Linked DNA regions of Homo sapiens: all the other regions are linked to region 2. Evidence: promoter capture Hi-C in human tissues and cell types (Jung and others, 2019). All regions are on one chromosome and are shown on one strand. The core of a region is centred on a gene start or on the middle of the fragment in contact, and the rest is flanking DNA. Distances in the headings are between cores, read along the strand shown. Region 1 holds the start of P2RX7 (purinergic receptor P2X 7). Region 2 overlaps SPPL3 (signal peptide peptidase like 3). Region 3 holds the start of MSI1 (musashi RNA binding protein 1). Region 4 holds the start of P2RX4 (purinergic receptor P2X 4).

Region 1 (4,464 bases), core at 1,071-3,570, 330 kb after region 2:
ACTTTGGTAGGCTAAGGCGGGCAGATCGCTTGTGACCAGGAGTTCGAGACCAACCTAGCCAACATGGTGAAACCCCATCTCTACTAAAAACACAAAAATCAGCTGAGCGTGCGCATGGCTGTAATTGCAGATACTCATGAGGCTGAGGCACAAGAATCGCTTGAACCCAGGAGGCAGGGGTTGCAGTGACCCAAAGTCTTGCCACTGCACTACAGCCTGGGCAACAGGGGGAGACTCCATCTCAAAAAAACAAAAAAAAAAAAAAAAAAAAAAAAAGAAAGAAAGAAAAGAGAAAGAAAGAAAGACAAGAAAATAGATGTCTTTGAGTGGTAGCAAGAGCAACACTGAAGTGATTTGCCTATTCTGGACATTTCCTATAAATGGAGTCGTAAAAGATGTATCCTTTTGTGTCTGGCCTCTTTCACTTAAGCGTAGTGTTTTCAAGGTTCATCCATGTTGGAGCATGGGTCAGTGTTTCATTCCTTTTTATGGCTGAATAATATTCCCTTGTATGGGCTTTCGTGCTTTTGTGTATCCATCCATCAGCTGATGGACATTTGACTTGTCTGCCTGTTCACTGCCATATCTACTATTCCTGGTGCTCTTGGGAATGAGTGAATGAATAGCATAAACAGAGCTGTCCAGGGTCACAGAGCTGGTAAGATGTGAAGCCAGGATCGGAAGCCAGGCCATTAGTCCCCTAGAGCCTATGTTCTAAGCATCAGGCTTTACCTGTGAATCTCCTCTTTTTACAGATGAAGATGACCGTATCACTCAGATTCCCGGCAGGAAAGCAATGGCATACTCAAGTGGGGTAACTAATGATGGAACCATTTACAAAGGTGTGGACAGAGTTAAGAAAAAGCAATAGGAGATAGTGAGCTTCCTGGGGCTGGTAAGAGTGGGGAGCCCTTACCACTCCCAGGACTAAAGGAGGGAGTGGTGCCCAGAAGCCCTGCCTATATGCAACTGAGAAGGGCAGGGCCAGGGAGTCACGTCCATCCTCACTGCTCTCCAGTCTCCTGAACTGGAAGCCAGAAGGTGAGGGGAACCCTGATGCAGTTTGTATGTGTGAGAAAGTACAATTAGTTTAGACTGAAAAACTGAAAATCTACCCGGCCACTTAGCAGGCTGGAATAACAGAAAGGGATCAAGCCAGCTGTAAAGATAACAGGGAACAATAATTCTCTGTAGCTGTAAAGTGATAATACAACCCTGCATCTTTGAGTGACTGCTGAAACATTGTCCTTTAAAATCAGAGACCTTCAGAAACTTTGCTGTTTGAAATTACATGACTAAGACTGAAATATTCCAATTTTGCCTGGAAGATTTAAGTCATCTTGACACAGAGAAGCAGCCTCAATTTACAACTCAGGAGCAGAGCTTCAGATAAAGATTTTCTGGACACATTTGACATGTATCTTAGCTATGTTGCTTCCTAGGAAACAGGGCCCTGGGTCCTCTTTGCAATCCAGACTGAAGTTGACTGCTTTGTACAAACCTGTTTTGCTTTGAGTCCATCAAAACATGACTTCATTTAGATTTTATCTCAACTCCACTTTCCTCGGAATCCTATAATAAATTGCTGTTTTCCTTTGTTTGGTGATGTGCGTAGCTCTTCTGGTGGGTGGTGTCCCTCACTGAATAGGTCAACAAACCTAACTTTGTTGGACTGCCACTGTGTCCCTGGTGATCTTTGGCTGATTGGTCTAGGTCATAGATCGACCTGCCGGGGTGCAGAGGAGGGTGGAGAGTAACTCAGAGGGTCAAGCATGAAAGATCTGGCAGAAAAATAAAGCCCCTCCACCCCCACCACCCCTACCCCTGCAAATCTGATTTCCCCCACCAACTGCAGACCAGAGTATTATAAGGGGCGGTGGAAGAAGAGGGGGAGATCTTCATTTACCCAGAGCTCCTATACATCAGGGGCTGAATAAAGGGTTGTAGAAATGAATGAATCAATCTCTGAGTGGGGCTTCAGGCAATGGAAAGATCTCAGTCCTTTTCTGAGGCATAATGGAAGCTCCCAGTCTTGTGACATTTGCAAGGCTGCCCCTTTCTCCCAAGAGACATGAGACCAAAAAAGTGAAAGGAAAGGGGGGAAAAGGGAGAATTCTAAAAATGCCCATCCTCTGAACACCATCTTTGTGTAGGCATCTGGGGGAGGCCAGCTGGGGTGAGGTCATCTGCCAGCCAGGCCCGTAGGACTTGGCGCTTCTTGTTTATCACAGCCACATGTGGGGCCACTGCCAGGGCCCGCCCCAACTCTGCAGTCATTGGAGGAGCTTGAAGTTAAAGACTCCTGCTAAAAACCAGTACGTTTCATTTTGCAGTTACTGGGAGGGGGCTTGCTGTGGCCCTGTCAGGAAGAGTAGAGCTCTGGTCCAGCTCCGCGCAGGGAGGGAGGCTGTCACCATGCCGGCCTGCTGCAGCTGCAGTGATGTTTTCCAGTATGAGACGAACAAAGTCACTCGGATCCAGAGCATGAATTATGGCACCATTAAGTGGTTCTTCCACGTGATCATCTTTTCCTACGTTTGGTAAGTGGGATCTGGGGAGGACCCAGATCTCTGCAGTGGCCGACAGCACAGAAAGCCCCAGCGGGCAGCTTCAGGTGCACATTCTGAATCTCACATGGTTTTCGAATCTGAGACGTGCTCTCACAGCCAGCTGGGCGGGAGGGAGGAAGCAGCAGCAGGCAAGAGGAAACGGTGCCAGGCTGCAGCAGAGAGAAGCCACAGGACAAGCGGGATTCCTTTCTGCTCTACTTCAGGCCCGCCAGGGCGCGCAGGGCAGGGCGTGCCTGGGGAAGGTAGGAAAGCGCAGGGCAACACCCTGGATCCCCAGGGAGGAGGCGAGGATCTCAGGGCACGCCTGGTGATCATGCTGGCATCTGAGTCACCATGCTTGGGAGGAATAGGACCAGGCTTGAAAATGTGTTATAACTTTAGGTCCTCACCAACGTCAGGAAGGCCCTGCTTTTTGGTTTTTGTTTCTTCTAAAAGAAACTTACTGAGATATAATTTATACACCATACAATTGACCCATTTAAAGGGTACCATTTAATGATTTTCAGATTATTCCCAGAGTTGTGCAACCATCCCCACAATCAATTTTAGAATATTTTAATCGACTCAAAAGGAATCCCACACTCCTTCACCATCATTTCCAACACTGTTCCTCCTCCTTCCCACCCATCAATTTCCTTTCTGCCTCTATGGATTTGCCGATTCTGGACATTTCATATAAATGGAATCACATAATATGTGGTCCTTTGTGGCACTTAGCGTGTTTTCAATGCTCATCCATGTTGTAGCATGTGTTGATACTTCATTCAATTTTTTTTTTTAAAGAGACGGGGTCTCACTATTTTGTCCAGGCTGGTCTCAAACTCCTGGACTCAAGTGATCTGCCTGCCTCGGCCTCCCAAAGTGTCAGGATTACAGGCGTGAGCCATTGCACCCGGCTGATACTTCATTCCTTTTTACGGCTGAGTAGTACTCCATTGCATGGATAGACCACTTTTTTCTATCCATTCATCCATTGATGGACATTGGGGTTGTTTCTCTTTTTTGGCTATCATGAATAATGCCACATGAACATTTGTGTACAAGGTTTTATGTGGATATATATTCTCCTTTCTCTCGAATATGTACCTAAGAGTAAAAATTGCTAGGTCATATGTTAACTATGTTTCACCTTTGGGGGGAATGTGGAGCTGAATTTCACAGCAGCTGCAGTTTTTTACATTCCTATCAGCAGAGTATGAGGGATCCAATTTCTCCACATCCTCACCAACGCTTGTTATCGTCTGTCTTTTTGGGTTTTGTTGTTGTCATTTTGTTTTTGTCTTTGAGATGAAGTCTTGCTCTGTTGCCCAGGCTGGAGTGCAGTGGCGCAATCTTGGCTCACTGCAACCTCCACCTCCCCGGTTCAAGCGATTCTCCTGCCTCAGCCTCATGAGTAGCTGGGATTACAGGTGTGCGTCACCACTCCTCACTAATTTTTGTATTTTTAGTAGAGATGAGGTTTCGCCATGTAGGCCAGGCTGGTCTCAAACTCCTGACCTCAAGTGATCCGCCCACCTTGGCCTCCCAAAGTGCTGGGATTACAGGCATGAGCCGCCACGCCCGGCTGATTGTCTGTCTTTTTTATTATAGCCATGCTAGTGGGTGTGAAGTGGTAGTTCATTGTGGTTGTGATTTGAATTTCCCTGATGGTGAGTGCCTCTTATTCTCTGTGCTGATTGATAATGATGATGAAGGCAATTTGTATCTATAGAGTGGCAGTGTAGTTTACTAAGAGTTAGGGTAACTTATTTCATAGTACTGGCTATGTCTTCTGGGCCAAGTCATTAACTTCTCTGAGCCTCAGTTTCTGCATCTGTTCATAGGGTTGTGGCAATTAACCAAAAAAAAAAGGCATGAACAGCCCTTATCATGATGACTGACATAGGATAAGAGC
Region 2 (4,238 bases), core at 1,027-3,526:
TACATGACAGGACCACCTGTGCTAGCTGGGCCTCCTCTTCTCTCTCTCTCATAATCTGTCTCACCACCATAACCTGATTTACCACCATAACCTGTCTTGCCACACTCCAAGCCCTCATTCTTTCTGTAACCTCAAGGTGGTATAAAAGCATCAGCCATCTGGCCATTTTTTTTTTTTGAGATCTTATATTTTGTAAGACTTTTGTGCACATTAACAAATCTGTATGCCTTTTCTATTAATCTGCTATTTGTCAGTGGATTTTTCAGCGAGGATTCAGGGGGCACAGAGGAAGTTTTCCCTTGGCCCTGTTACACCAAGTAATGGGCTCACTGCTTGACGCGCTACATCTTTCCACATTAGTATATACTGCTTTTTTCTCATAAAAACAAACAAACAAAAAAACCTACAGAGTATTTCTCCCCAAGTAAACTTGATCTGGTATCATTTTTAGATAAGCTGCACATGAGCTGTCTTACTACAGAGAAATATTAAGACCAGCAGGCTTTATAGGTGAATGATATGGTTTAGCCTTGAACTGGGTAAGGTCCAGATGGCCACTGACCCTGTCAGCTAATTAGTGTCAGTTAGAATGACAACTCATCAACATTCTTCAACTTTAAATTGGGTGTAAGTATAAATTCCAGTTTGGTGTTTTGGTCACTTTGATGTACATTTCACATGAAGTTTATTACAGACACTATATCAAGAAGTATATTAATATTCTGTGAGTGCCTTAATAAGATTTTAGTGTGGCTGAGGTAGAGATCTGGTTATATTTGCCCTAAATTTGTTTCAGGCTAGAATTAATTCAGTTGCAAGGAACAGAACTTTAGGAAATCAACTACTCATTTCTTTATGTCCTAGAGTGGATTAAAAAGGATTTTCTGAGGAAGATTCTAGGCCTGCCTTTAGGAACTTCCACTGCCTGCCTCAGGACAAGGGGAAACATGGGCTTATATTTAGGTATTAGGTTCCTTCATTCTGATAAAAATACGAATGCACCATGAGTGCTGTTAAGACAACTAGGTCTGTATTTAGCTGGCAACATAATACATTTTTGGGCTGCTGCTTTTATATATGTATGTATGTATGTATGTGTGTATATATATACATATATATGTATATATATACACATATATGTGTGTGTGTGTGTGTGTATATATATATATATATTTTTTTTTTTTTTCCTTTTTGAGATGGAGTCTCAGTTTGTGGCCCAGGCTGGAGTGCAGTGGCGCAATCTCGGCTCACTGCAACCTCTGCCTCCCAGTTCAAGCGATTCTCCTGCCTCAGCCTCCTGAGTAGCTGGGATTACAGGCATGCATCAACACGCCTGGCTAATTTTTGTATTTTGAGTAGAGATGGAGTTTCACCATGTTGGCCAGGCTGGTCTTGGAACTCCTGACCTCACGTGATCCTCCCACCTTGGCCTCTGAACATGCTGGGATTACAAGCGTGAGCCACCGTGCCTGGTCTGCTACCAATATTTATTAACAGATCAACATTCAAGAATAACCAGTTTAAGAATTAACAGCCCATTCATTCTCCAGATATTCCAAAATATAACCTTAGACCACACTTAGCAGTAAGATGGTTATCTAAACAACAACATCCTGTTGCCCACTGTGCACCTTCAATTTTGGCAAAACTGCTTTTGCTGAAATACATTTTCATGCAATGCCACCAACTTATATTGAAGGTACTACAATTCATTCAACAAACACTTATTTGAATGCCTACTGTGAGATGAATGAACTTAACATTATATCCTCTTTATGAAGGTCGTTAGGATAAAAGTCTGTCTGATCTTAAGGCCAAGAACAGTTGCGATTCACCTGAACAACTGAGTTCTTTTGATGGAAGGAAGCTGAGTTTTACATTCTTTCTTTTTAAATCTGGCTGCTACAAAGCTTATGGTGGTCCTTGTGAAACACTAGTAACAGGAGTGCTGGCATTATGGTATGCATTTTTACATTTCTTTTTTGGCTCTATTTTGTCTCCACTCATACTTTTAGTTTTCTTTGGCCCCATTTTATTTTTCCTTGAAGTAACTTGCAAAAGTTAGTACATGCTCTGAAATCGGGCAGTGAAGAGCACAAATAAACAATTGTAGGAAGCAAAATGGAGGGGAGAGCAGATCAGTTTATTGAAAGTTATACTCGTTCATCCATTTGCATTCTGATACCTGAGGACACTGTGAATTACTGGAGGAGAAAAGCAAATTGGAATTTTTAACCTTAACATTATTTTTTTCTCAGCTCCAGAAAGGAGTGAAAAAATGAAAAAATAATAAAATTTTAATTTATAAAAAATTTTAAAAAGAAAGTTTTTTGATAATTCTACTATTGAAAGTGAGTACAATGAAGCGGGGACTCACTGGTTCAAGGTAAACATTACATGGTTAAAGTTAGGTTAAGTTAAATATGTGTTCCTAGAAAACTTACAGTGGTTTTATAAATTGAACATTTAATAGTGAATTGATGAAATTCTTAAATATATAAAAAAACTTGTCTACACACGCTGCAATGGACAAAATCATTCCCTACGTCATCTAACAAGTTCAGGCTTCTGTGTATGATGTTTTCTTCAAGTAGGACGAGTTATGGAATGACAAAAAGGGTAGCTCAAAAGTTAATCAACATATTACACACAATTAGAACATCATGACAATTGTGAACCATAGTGACACTTGTTCTGGTGAACCATGGTCTAACTACAATTATATGCACTTAGAATGAAGGGCATCACAATCATATCAAGTATAGTTCTTATTAAAGAACTCAGCATCTCTGCAGGCTTACTAACCTGATGTTGTCTTCCTAGAGTAGGTTTGGGTATACGTAAATGAACTGCCCTCATTACCTAAGAAAGCATTGGTAGGTGCTTGCCTTTACAAAAAAGGAACTAGTTACTCTTGAGTTATAATACAAATGACCAAAAACTAACTCAAGAAAATCTAAATAGCCTTTTTTGGACAATGTTAAGACAGAAACTGTTACTAGAGATAAAGAGGAACATTTTATAAAAGTCAAGAAATAGATAACAATTATAAGCATACAGAAAGTGAAAAGACAAACCCAGAGGCACTTATAACAAAAACCCATTTTCACAATAAAGAAAGAACACTCAAAATTCAACAAGAAAAAGAAAACCCAATTTAAAAATGGACAGAAGAGTTGAAAAGACACCAAAGAAGAGACATAGATGGCAAATGGGCACATGAAAAGATGCTCAACATCAGTAGGCATTAAGAAAATGCAAACCAAAATTATAATGAGATACCACTTCATACCCACCAGAACAGTAGAATAGCTATAATCATAAAGATAGATAATAACAAGTGTTGGTGAAGAAGTGGAGAAATTGGAAACCTCATACATTGCTAGTGGGAATGTACAATAGCATAGCTGCCTTGGAAAACAGAAGCATTTCTTAAAATGTTAAGACTAAGAGTTACCATTAGACCCAGCAATTCTGCTACTAGGTATCTGCTTGAGGGCAATAAATATGTTATGTCTGCACAGAAACTTGTACACAAATGTTCACAGTAACATTATTCATAAAAGCCAAAAAAGGGAAACAACCCAAACGTCTATCAGCCAATGAATGGAAAAACAAAAAGTATTATTCAGTAATAAAAAGGAATGAAATACTGATAACATGCTACAACACAGATAAACTTCAAAAACATGCTAAGTGAAAGAAGCCAGTAACAAAAGGTCACATACTGTATGACACCACTTATACGAGAGGTCCAGAATAGGCAAATCTATAGAGATAAAAGGTAGATTCATGGTTGCCTAGGGCTGGCGGGCAGGGAAAGAGGAATGGGAATGACTGCTAACTGGTACAAATTTTCTTTTGGGATGATAATGTGCTAAAATTGGATTACAGTGACGGCTGAACAATTTTGTAAATAAACTAAAACCCACTGAATTGTATACTTTAAGTGACCAAACTTTATGGTATTTATCTCTCAATAAAGCTGTTAAAATATACTATATAAATTAAATGGACAAAAACCACAGGATCAACTCAATAGAAGCATAAGAACACATGATAAAATCCAATACCCATTCATGATAAAACTCTCCACAAACTAGAAATAAGAGAAATTTCTTCAACCTGATAAAGGGCATTTATGAAAAATGTACAACTAACTACATACTTAATGGGAAATGCTTTCCCTGAAGGATTAGGAACAGGGCAAGGATGGATGTGTGCCTTTGGCACTTCTA
Region 3 (4,208 bases), core at 219-2,718, 430 kb before region 2:
CCTAGCCCCACCCCAAGCTCTGCTCTGAGGCATCATGATTAGTACTTCTAGGGAGAGGGTGGCGGCTGCCTCTCCCCTCACCAGGACTAGGGGAGGGGGGATGTAGCATCTCATGGCAGGCCAGGGATTTTTCTCCTCCCTCTCCCCCCCAACTCTAGTGACAAAGTTTCAGAGCATGGCAGCCCTCTTACTCAGAAAAACTCCCTCCTTCCTCATGGACCCCGTCCAGCTGTCCCCTGGGGAGAGTCCTGACCCTCTCCTCCGGCAGCCTCCCTCTCCCAAAGGACCCCCGAAGCCCCGAGGGCCACTCACTGTTTTGGAGTCGAGCTCGTGCCGCGATTGCGCCAGCACTTTATCCACCCCCGCCTGGTCCATGAAAGTGACGAAGCCGAAACCCCTGCGCGCCGTAGTGAGGGAGAGGCAGATGGTTACAAGGCAGTGAGTGGCGGGTGGAGGGGGGCGAGCCGGGAGCAGGAGGAGGGGGTGAGGGGCTCACCTGGATCTCTTGGTCAGGGGGTCCCGCATCACCAGACACTCCTTCACCTCCCCGAACTGGCCGAAGTATTCGCGCAGCCCTTCTGTAACCACACACCCGCCTTCGGACCAGCCCGGGCCCCGCGCCCTTCCCCCCCCCCCGTCCTTTGCCCCCGGTGACCCCGGAGCGGCCCGGCCGCCCCCGCGCCAAGCTGCCCGCGCGTTCTCCACTGCCGCCGCCCCCCACCGCCCTCGCCCCGTTCCCGCTGAGCCTCCTGGCGCCCACCGGGGCCCCGGGAAGCCGAGGGCCGAGCTGGGCTGGAAGGGGGACGGCTCCGGCCGGGTTCCCGCCGCTCCGGGAGCAGCCTCACAAAAGTTTGAGCCGCAGGTGCGAGCGGAGTTGGCGCTGCCGCCGGCGGGTCCCGGGGGCCCAGCCCACCCCCCGATACCCCCTGAACCCCTCATCTGCTCCCCTCCACCCGCTGGGCCGGGTGCGCTCGCGGATCGCCCTGCGCTCTCGGGGTCTCCGGGCGGGGCGCGAAAGAGGGCGCGAGGGCGCCCGGGGTCAGCAGGGCGCAGGGCCGGGCTGGGGTGTCCGGGTCCGGGGCGCCGGGGGGTCCGGGGTGCCCTGCCGGACCGGCGGGCGCTCCCGGGCTCGCTCACCCTGCGTAGTCTGCCAACTGAGTCCCCCGATGAACATCTTGCTGCGGGAGGAGGAGAGACACAAAGGGCCCGCGTGAGCGCCGGGCGCCAGGGCGCAGGGGGCGCGGGCCCGGGCTCCGGGGAGGCCCGGCCGGACCCGGATCGGCCATGTTGGCGGGGCCGGGGCGGGCGCGGGCCAAGCAGGCCGGGCCGGGCCGTACCAGGGGTCGTGCGGCGAGTCCGGGGAGGCGAGGCCGGGCTGGGGCGCGTCAGTCTCCATCGGGAGCCGCGGGCGGCGCGGGCAGCGGAGCGGCGGCGGCGGCGGCGGCGGCGGCGCTCGGCGCGGGGCAGATGAGGAGCGCGGCGAAGGGGGCCGGACGGACAGGCCATGCTGCCCCCTCCCCCGACCCCGCTCGGGCGGGCGGGCGGGGACGGCCGAGGGGAGGGCCCGCCGGGGGCCGACCTGCCGGCTCCTCCCCCCGCCGCCCTGCGCGCATAAAGCCCCGCGCTCGCCCGCGAGCCCGGGCGCCCGCGGAGGCGGCGGCGCCGGGACCCCCTTCCCGCGGGGCTCCTGGGTCTCCGGGGCCGAGCGAGACCCCCGAATCCCGGTGCGGGCCGGGACCAGGGCGCGGCCGCACCCCCCACCCACCCCGGCGCGGGGGCCCGGCCGCGGGAACGCCCTCCCGGAATGAAGCGCTTCCCGGTGCCTTCAAGGTAGCTCGGTTCCGGATCGGGAACCCCCCCGGTCTTCCCTCTCAGGTCCCTGCTGTCCAGAATTGAAGAGAACCCCAATCTCCTCGGGTCGGGCGGGAGATAGCCCTAGTGCTCCCCAGTCCCCACATGCTCCATTTCCCCAGTCGGAGCGAGAAGCCGCCCTCAGAGCCCCCAGTTTCCTCCCAACCTAATTTACAGCCCCCCACCCCCACCCCAGGGCTCTAATTTAGAGCCCTCGCTCCGTTCCCAGGATCCCATATCCAGTTTGGGGGACCCACTCAGTGCCTCGCGTCCCGAGTGGGGAACCTCCATCAGCACCCCAGTAGAAACCGTATCCTCTTCCCCAATCCGTCCTCAGCCCTTGGTGTCCAAAGTGAGAGTCCCCCTTAGTTTCCCCAAATCCCTGCCGTCCACATTAGTGGACCCTATGGTCTGTTGAGAAAATCCCGCGCCCCAAGCCCGGGTTCTCAGTTTGCCGCCACCCCCACCTCCCGGTGTGAGGAGTCTCCCCTGGTTCTCTCCCTCCCTGGCCGGTTTTTGTGAGATCCATTCAGACTCCTGTCCTGATTCGGGAAACCCGGTTCCAGACACTCACCACCCCCACCACACCGAGGCTGGAGGAAAAGGCAGTGCCTCTTAGAGCCTCCTGTTTCCAGTTTAGGAGCCCAACGCCTCAGCTGTGCACCGTCCCCTCCGAATGACCCCCTTCTTTTGCAGAGGTCTAAGCTCCACCCCATCCCATTGGAAGAGCCTAAACTACCTACCCACTGCATTTGGAATGACTTCCCTCAGTCCCTCTTATTTTGAGGCTACTCCCCGTGAAGGCAAACACCTTCCTTTCTACCCCCATCTTCTGGGTCTCTGGGATCCCCCAGTACTTGCACCCAAGGCTCCTTGGAGTCACCTTACGTACCCCTAAAATTCCCTCCCTCCAGCCTGGGAACAACCCTGAGAAAGTATTCTGGTTCACCAGGGGAGCTGCGGGGCCACTCTCCTTATCCCCACCTCTCCTTATCCCCGCCTCTCCATATCCCCACCTCTCCATATTCCCACCTCTCCATATCCAAGCCTTAGGACCCTTCACTTCCCCAGCTGAAACCAGCCAAAAAAGGATCAAACCAGGAAGCTTAGGTGGCCAACACCCCTTCTCCCCATCCCTGCTGGGGGTCTCAGTGCCACACAAGCCCCTCCCTCCCAACTCACCTTCTACTCCTTCCCCCATCCCTACCTTAATCCATCCGGTGTAATCCAGTGACAACCCATGTTGACAAGCCCTTTGCTGTTCACCTTCACATTCCATCCTGAATTCAACACCTTTTATTCCTGGGCATCATAACTCTGACCTCTGGAAGGGTGCCCATCCCCCTCTTGATAGCCCTCCTTCCCTCTCCCCACCCCAACCATCAGGCAGAGAAGAAAGTGAGAGACTTACAGTAATGGTTTCCTTGGGGACCTTCTGGGAATGCTCAGCAGGTATATCCTGCCACCCTGTGAGCATAACACTAGAAACAAACTTGCTTTTTCCTGTTTGTGTCCCCTACTCTGCCCCACAGTTTCTCAGCATCCCCTGGACTGGGGACTGGAGGGCCACCCACACAAGGCATTTCTTACCATTCCGACACAAAAGCATTCCAGTTTGTGTTGTAGCAGAGACACAGATGAGGGTGAGCAGGTAGCCTCTGCGGTATTAGGGAGGTGACTCTTCTTAGGTCTGAACTTAAAAAGGGTCATTGGAGAGGTGCGGGGAGTAGGGATCTTCCAGTGTTCCTGGACTTTGGTTTGTGTGCTGGTGCTGCTGGGCAGATGAGCTTGAAGGATAGGAAATGGGTCCTTTCCGGCAGTGGCGACCTACCCACGAGAACATGCCTCTCGACAGGGATCTCCTTCATCCTTCTCCAGAAGAGAAGAGGAAACAGAAGAAGAAACGCCTGGTGCAGAGTCCCGATTCCTACTTCATGGATATGACATGCCCAGGATGCTATAAAATCACCATGGTCTGTAGCCATGCACAAACGGTAGTTTTGTGTGTTGCCTGCTCCACTGTTCTCTGCCAGCCTACAGGAGGAAAAGGAAGGCTACAGAAGGATGTTCCTTCAGGAGGAAGCAGCACCCAAAGCACTCTGAATCAAGATGAGTGGGAAACCATCTCAATAAACACATTTTGGATTAAAAAAAAAAAAGGAAATGGGTAAAGGCATCTGTTCAGAGTCAGCCAATGCTGTGTAAGAAGTAGCTTGAGATAGGATCCATGTATTAGCATATTCATTCAGAATCTGAGGAGGAAGCGTCTACCTCTTTTGGTCAGTAGCTTGTTTGTATCACAGTAACATGGGTTAGACTTAGACAAATCCTCTTTCAGTGCAGGTGTATCTCAGCTG
Region 4 (3,920 bases), core at 349-2,848, 410 kb after region 2:
AATGAAAAGCACAGCCATTGACTATGATTACAAACCAAAACTTTATACCAATTACCTGTTGGAATTTATGCTGCATGAAGGCAGGATATTTTGCTTGTCCTGTTCACTGGACAGTACTTGGCATAAAGGATGTGCTTATGAATATTTTCTGGGAAACTAAATATAACATTCACCTGTGAAAACACATCTGGGCCAGGCGCAGTGGCTCACGCCTGTAATCCCAACACTTTGGGAGCCCGAGGCGGGTGGATCATGGGAGGTCAGGAGCTGGAGATCAGCCTGGCCAACATGGTGAAAACCTGTCTCTAATAAAAATACAAAAATTAGCTGGGCGTGGTGGCGGGCACTTGTAATCCCAGCTACTCAAGAGGCTGAGGCAGGAGAATTGCTTGAACCTGGGAGGCGGAGGTTACAGTGAGCCGAGATCGCGCCACTGCACTCCAGACTGGACAAGAGTGAAACTCCGTCTCAAAAAAAAAAAGAAAAAGAAAAAGAAAAAACGTATCTGAAGGGAATGAACAAATACACATGCGGAAAATTGTATTCATGGGGTAGAACGGTGGCTGTTTCCCCCCCTTTCACTATTTTCTCTCCTAAAGTTGTGATAGCATTTTCTCAGTGGAAAGGATGACCACAGAATTATCTCCCCTGGGCTGCAACTAAGGAAGTATTTGGAGTGAGAATGCGACCAGGCTTCAAATCCAGGAGGGGTATTTTACAGGGCGTGTGGCTCTCACCCAGGGCTCACAGGACACCTGATATTTAGGCTGTTCCCCAAGAGGCTAAGGACAGCGCGGCCCCAGCTCCCCCAACCACAGCTGCCCAAGTTTAGGAGCCCGCACTCGTGAGCGATGGCTACTCCGCACAGCCCCGGGGTCCTCTACGGAAATCCCTGGCACCTATCAGTACCCCTAAGGGAGGTCGCTCGTTACCCCTCACTTGAACTCTGTCCCAAATGGGAGGTCACTCTCTCTTCGCGGACCCCATCTTCCCCGAAAGGGTCTCTTGTTCTCTCTGGCCCTCCTGAGAAGGTCATTACTCCCCAACTCGCCTTTTTTGTTGTTTTTTGGTTTCTGGTTTATTGAGGCAGGGTCTCGCTTCATCTCCCAGACTGGAGTGCAGTGGCGCGATCACAGCTCACACGGCAGCCTCTACCTCCTGGGCTCAAGCGATCCTCTCACCTCAGCCTCCCTGGGACTACAGGCGAGCGCCACTACGCCCGCTTTTTTTTTTTTTTTTTTTTTTTTTTTGTATTTTTGATAGAGACGAGGTCTCGCTATGTTGTCCAGGCTGGTCTCTAACTCAAGATTCCTCTCACCTCGGCCTCCGCAAGTGCTGGGATGACAGGTGTGAGCCACCGCCCCCGGCCCCTCGCCCGCCTTTTGAAGGAGCCTTTCGTCCTCAAGGGCGAGGCCACTCCCCCCCCGCGAGTTCCATGCCCCCTAGAGGGTCATCGTTCCCGACGGGGAGGTGGCGCCCTCCCCCGGGCCCCGGGCCCCGACCGCCCGTGCTGCCTCCTTCCGGGCCCTCCTCCGCGATGACGGCGCCGCCAGCAGGCCAGGCGGACTGGGCGGGGCTCCGAGCGGGGACTGGGACCCAGACCGACTAGGGGACTGGGAGCGGGCGGCGCGGCCATGGCGGGCTGCTGCGCCGCGCTGGCGGCCTTCCTGTTCGAGTACGACACGCCGCGCATCGTGCTCATCCGCAGCCGCAAAGTGGGGCTCATGAACCGCGCCGTGCAACTGCTCATCCTGGCCTACGTCATCGGGTGAGCGTGGGGCCGCGCGGGGGGCGCGGCGGGTGCTGCCCTCGCGTCCGCGCCGTGCGGCGGCTCATCCTGGCCTCGGTCACCTGGGCGAGTCCGGGAGCGGCGAGCCGAGGCGGTGACACCTTCCCTGGGCCCCAGCCGCCGCGCCGGGGCCCCGGGGGCGGGAGGCTGCTTGCTGCTGTTTTAAAACCACAGCCTGGGCCAGGCGCGGTGGCGCAAGCCTGTAATCCGAGCACTTTGGGAGCCCGAGGCGGGACCATCGCCTGAGCCCAGGAGTTCGAAACCAATTTGGGCAACATCGTGGGACCCCGTCTCTGCAAAAAATTAAAAATCATCCGGGCCTGGTGGCGCGCGCCTGGGGTCCCAGCTACTCAGGAGGCTGAGGTGGGAGGATCGCTTGAGCCCAAGAGGCTGAGGCTGCAGTGAGCTATGATCACACCACTTAACTCGAGCCTGGGAGACAGTCCGAGACCCGTCTGTTTACAAAATAAATAAAGGCAAAGCCTGGCTAGGCTGTTACCCTCTCCTGCCTGACCCCCCATAGTGCCCCTTGGCTGTAGGGGCTTCGCCCTGAACGTCTCAATCTTCGCTCTCCACTTCCCATCCTGCTGATTTGCTGACAAAACCAAAGCTTGGAATTTCCGCTTGGTTCCTTCTGGGTGGGTGGCTTTTGGTCATTTCTTTTGATCACTATGCGGTGTCACTATGTGGTAGTAGCGAGGTCAGACTGTAGCGAGTGTTTAAAGTTTGCTTCCTTTGTTTTCTGGGCTTGTGGGGCTTTTTGTGGTACCTGCCCTAGCCTAGTCAGTCATTCCCCATGCTGCCCCCTTAGGCTAGAGATGCCCTACCGCCCTCAGGCCTCGCTGAATGTGCCATTGTACTTGAAGGCACCTGTTACTTTTTTAATTTTTTTATTTTTTTGAGACGGAATTTCTCTCTTGTCGCCCGGGCTGGAGTGCAATGGCACGATCTCGGCTCACTGCAACCTCTGCCTCCCGGGTTCAAGCAATTCTCCTGTCTCAGTCTCCTGAGTGGCTGGGATTACAAGTGCCCGCCACCACGCCCGGCCAATTTTTGTATTTTTTAGTAGAGACGGGGTTTCAGGCTGGTCCTGAACTGACCTCAGGTGATCCGCCCACCTCAGCCTCCCAAAATGCTGGGATTACAGGCGTGAGCCCCCACGCGGGGCTGGCACCTGTTACAATTGAATACAACGCGAGAGAGAAGATGATAATTACCTTGCCACCTGGGGCCACTTTAAAGGCTTACCTGGGGTGTTCTGGTGTCTACAGCTGCTGGGCTGACACGTATTGCCTAGTGCAGTGGTCTCCAAACTGCACATTGGAACCATCTGGAAATCTTTGGCTCCCATCCCCAGACCCTTTTTTATTTTTTTGATGGAGTCTCCCTCTGTCGCCCAGGCTGGAGTGCAGTGGTGCAATCTTGGCTCGCTGCAACCTCCACCTCCCTGGTTCAAGCGATTCTCCTGCCTCAGCCTCCTGAGTAGCTGGGATTACAGGCACCCACCACCATGCCCGGCTAATTTTTGTATTTTTAGTAGGGACAGGGTTTCGCCATGTTGGCCAGGCTGGTCTCGAACTCCTGGCCTCAGGTGATCCACCCGCCGCAGCCTCCCAGAGTGCTGGGATTACAGGCGTGAGCCACCGCGCCCAGACGCATCCCCAGACCTTCTGATTTAATTGCTGCAGAGTATGATCGGCTGCCCAGGTGATTCTCATGTTCAGCAACGTTTCGGAACCAATGAACTGTGTTTCCCAAGTTTACCTGATCATGGAAGACTCATCTGAGGAATTGTTTAAAAGTAACAGATCCCCCCGTCTTTGGGGTGAGGTTTGGAATCTTAACACTGCCCAAGGGAAGCCCAAGCAGGTTTGGCTTCCAATATCTGTCAGCAGCAGCAGTAGATACAGACAGTATTCAAGAGGATGGCTTTCCAGGTGCAGACTCAACATCAGAACCACCTGGCCCACACCCAGATTTGGACTCATTGGCTCACACCTGTAGTCCCAGTGCTTTGGGAAGCCAAGGTGGGAGGATTGCTTGAGGCCAGGAGCTCAAGACCAGCCTGGACACAAGACCAGCCTGGACAACATAGCGAGACCCCATCTCTAAGAGAAAAATAAAGTTTAAA

The links. The method cuts DNA at HindIII sites, captures the fragments that hold promoters and counts their contacts. A contact is called where the count stands out against the background at its distance.
Region 1: a contact is called between the fragment with the promoter of P2RX7 here and a fragment that was not itself captured in region 2, in 8 of the 25 tissues and cell types used here (H1 embryonic stem cells, IMR-90 fibroblasts, bladder and 5 more).
Region 3: the fragment with the promoter of MSI1 here is called in contact with a fragment that was not itself captured in region 2 in 4 of the 25 tissues and cell types used here (bladder, dorsolateral prefrontal cortex, liver and 1 more).
Region 4: a contact is called between the fragment with the promoter of P2RX4 here and a fragment that was not itself captured in region 2, in 8 of the 25 tissues and cell types used here (H1 embryonic stem cells, dorsolateral prefrontal cortex, hippocampus and 5 more).

What each region holds. Positions count from the first base shown.
Region 1 is chr12:121,130,556-121,135,019 of GRCh38, forward strand. P2RX7 (purinergic receptor P2X 7) reads left to right here and starts at 2,321. Exons shown (of 13, transcript NM_002562.6): 1 at 2,321-2,540. The coding sequence starts at 2,416. The region is part of intron 2 of LOC105370032 (a long non-coding RNA gene); the gene reads right to left. The HindIII fragment of the contact is 21,026 bases long and covers 1-4,464 here.
Region 2 is chr12:120,801,260-120,805,497 of GRCh38, forward strand. The region is part of intron 2 of SPPL3 (signal peptide peptidase like 3); the gene reads right to left. Among named protein-coding and RNA genes, the nearest start is that of ACADS, 78 kb to the left of the region's middle. The HindIII fragment of the contact is 8,897 bases long and covers 1-4,238 here.
Region 3 is chr12:120,367,696-120,371,903 of GRCh38, forward strand. It overlaps MSI1 (musashi RNA binding protein 1), which reads right to left and starts at 1,469. Exons shown (of 15, transcript NM_002442.4): 1 at 1,338-1,469; 2 at 1,138-1,178; 3 at 497-578; 4 at 313-397. The coding sequence starts at 1,396. It also overlaps the pseudogene RPS27P25. The HindIII fragment of the contact is 19,353 bases long and covers 1-3,777 here.
Region 4 is chr12:121,208,531-121,212,450 of GRCh38, forward strand. It overlaps P2RX4 (purinergic receptor P2X 4), which reads left to right and starts at 1,599. Exons shown (of 12, transcript NM_002560.3): 1 at 1,599-1,768. The coding sequence starts at 1,635. LOC105370032 (a long non-coding RNA gene) reads right to left here and starts at 1,542. Exons shown (of 4, transcript XR_001749352.3): 1 at 1,319-1,542. RefSeq lists a silencer at 1,305-2,044 and an enhancer at 2,375-2,424. The HindIII fragment of the contact is 10,060 bases long and covers 1-3,920 here.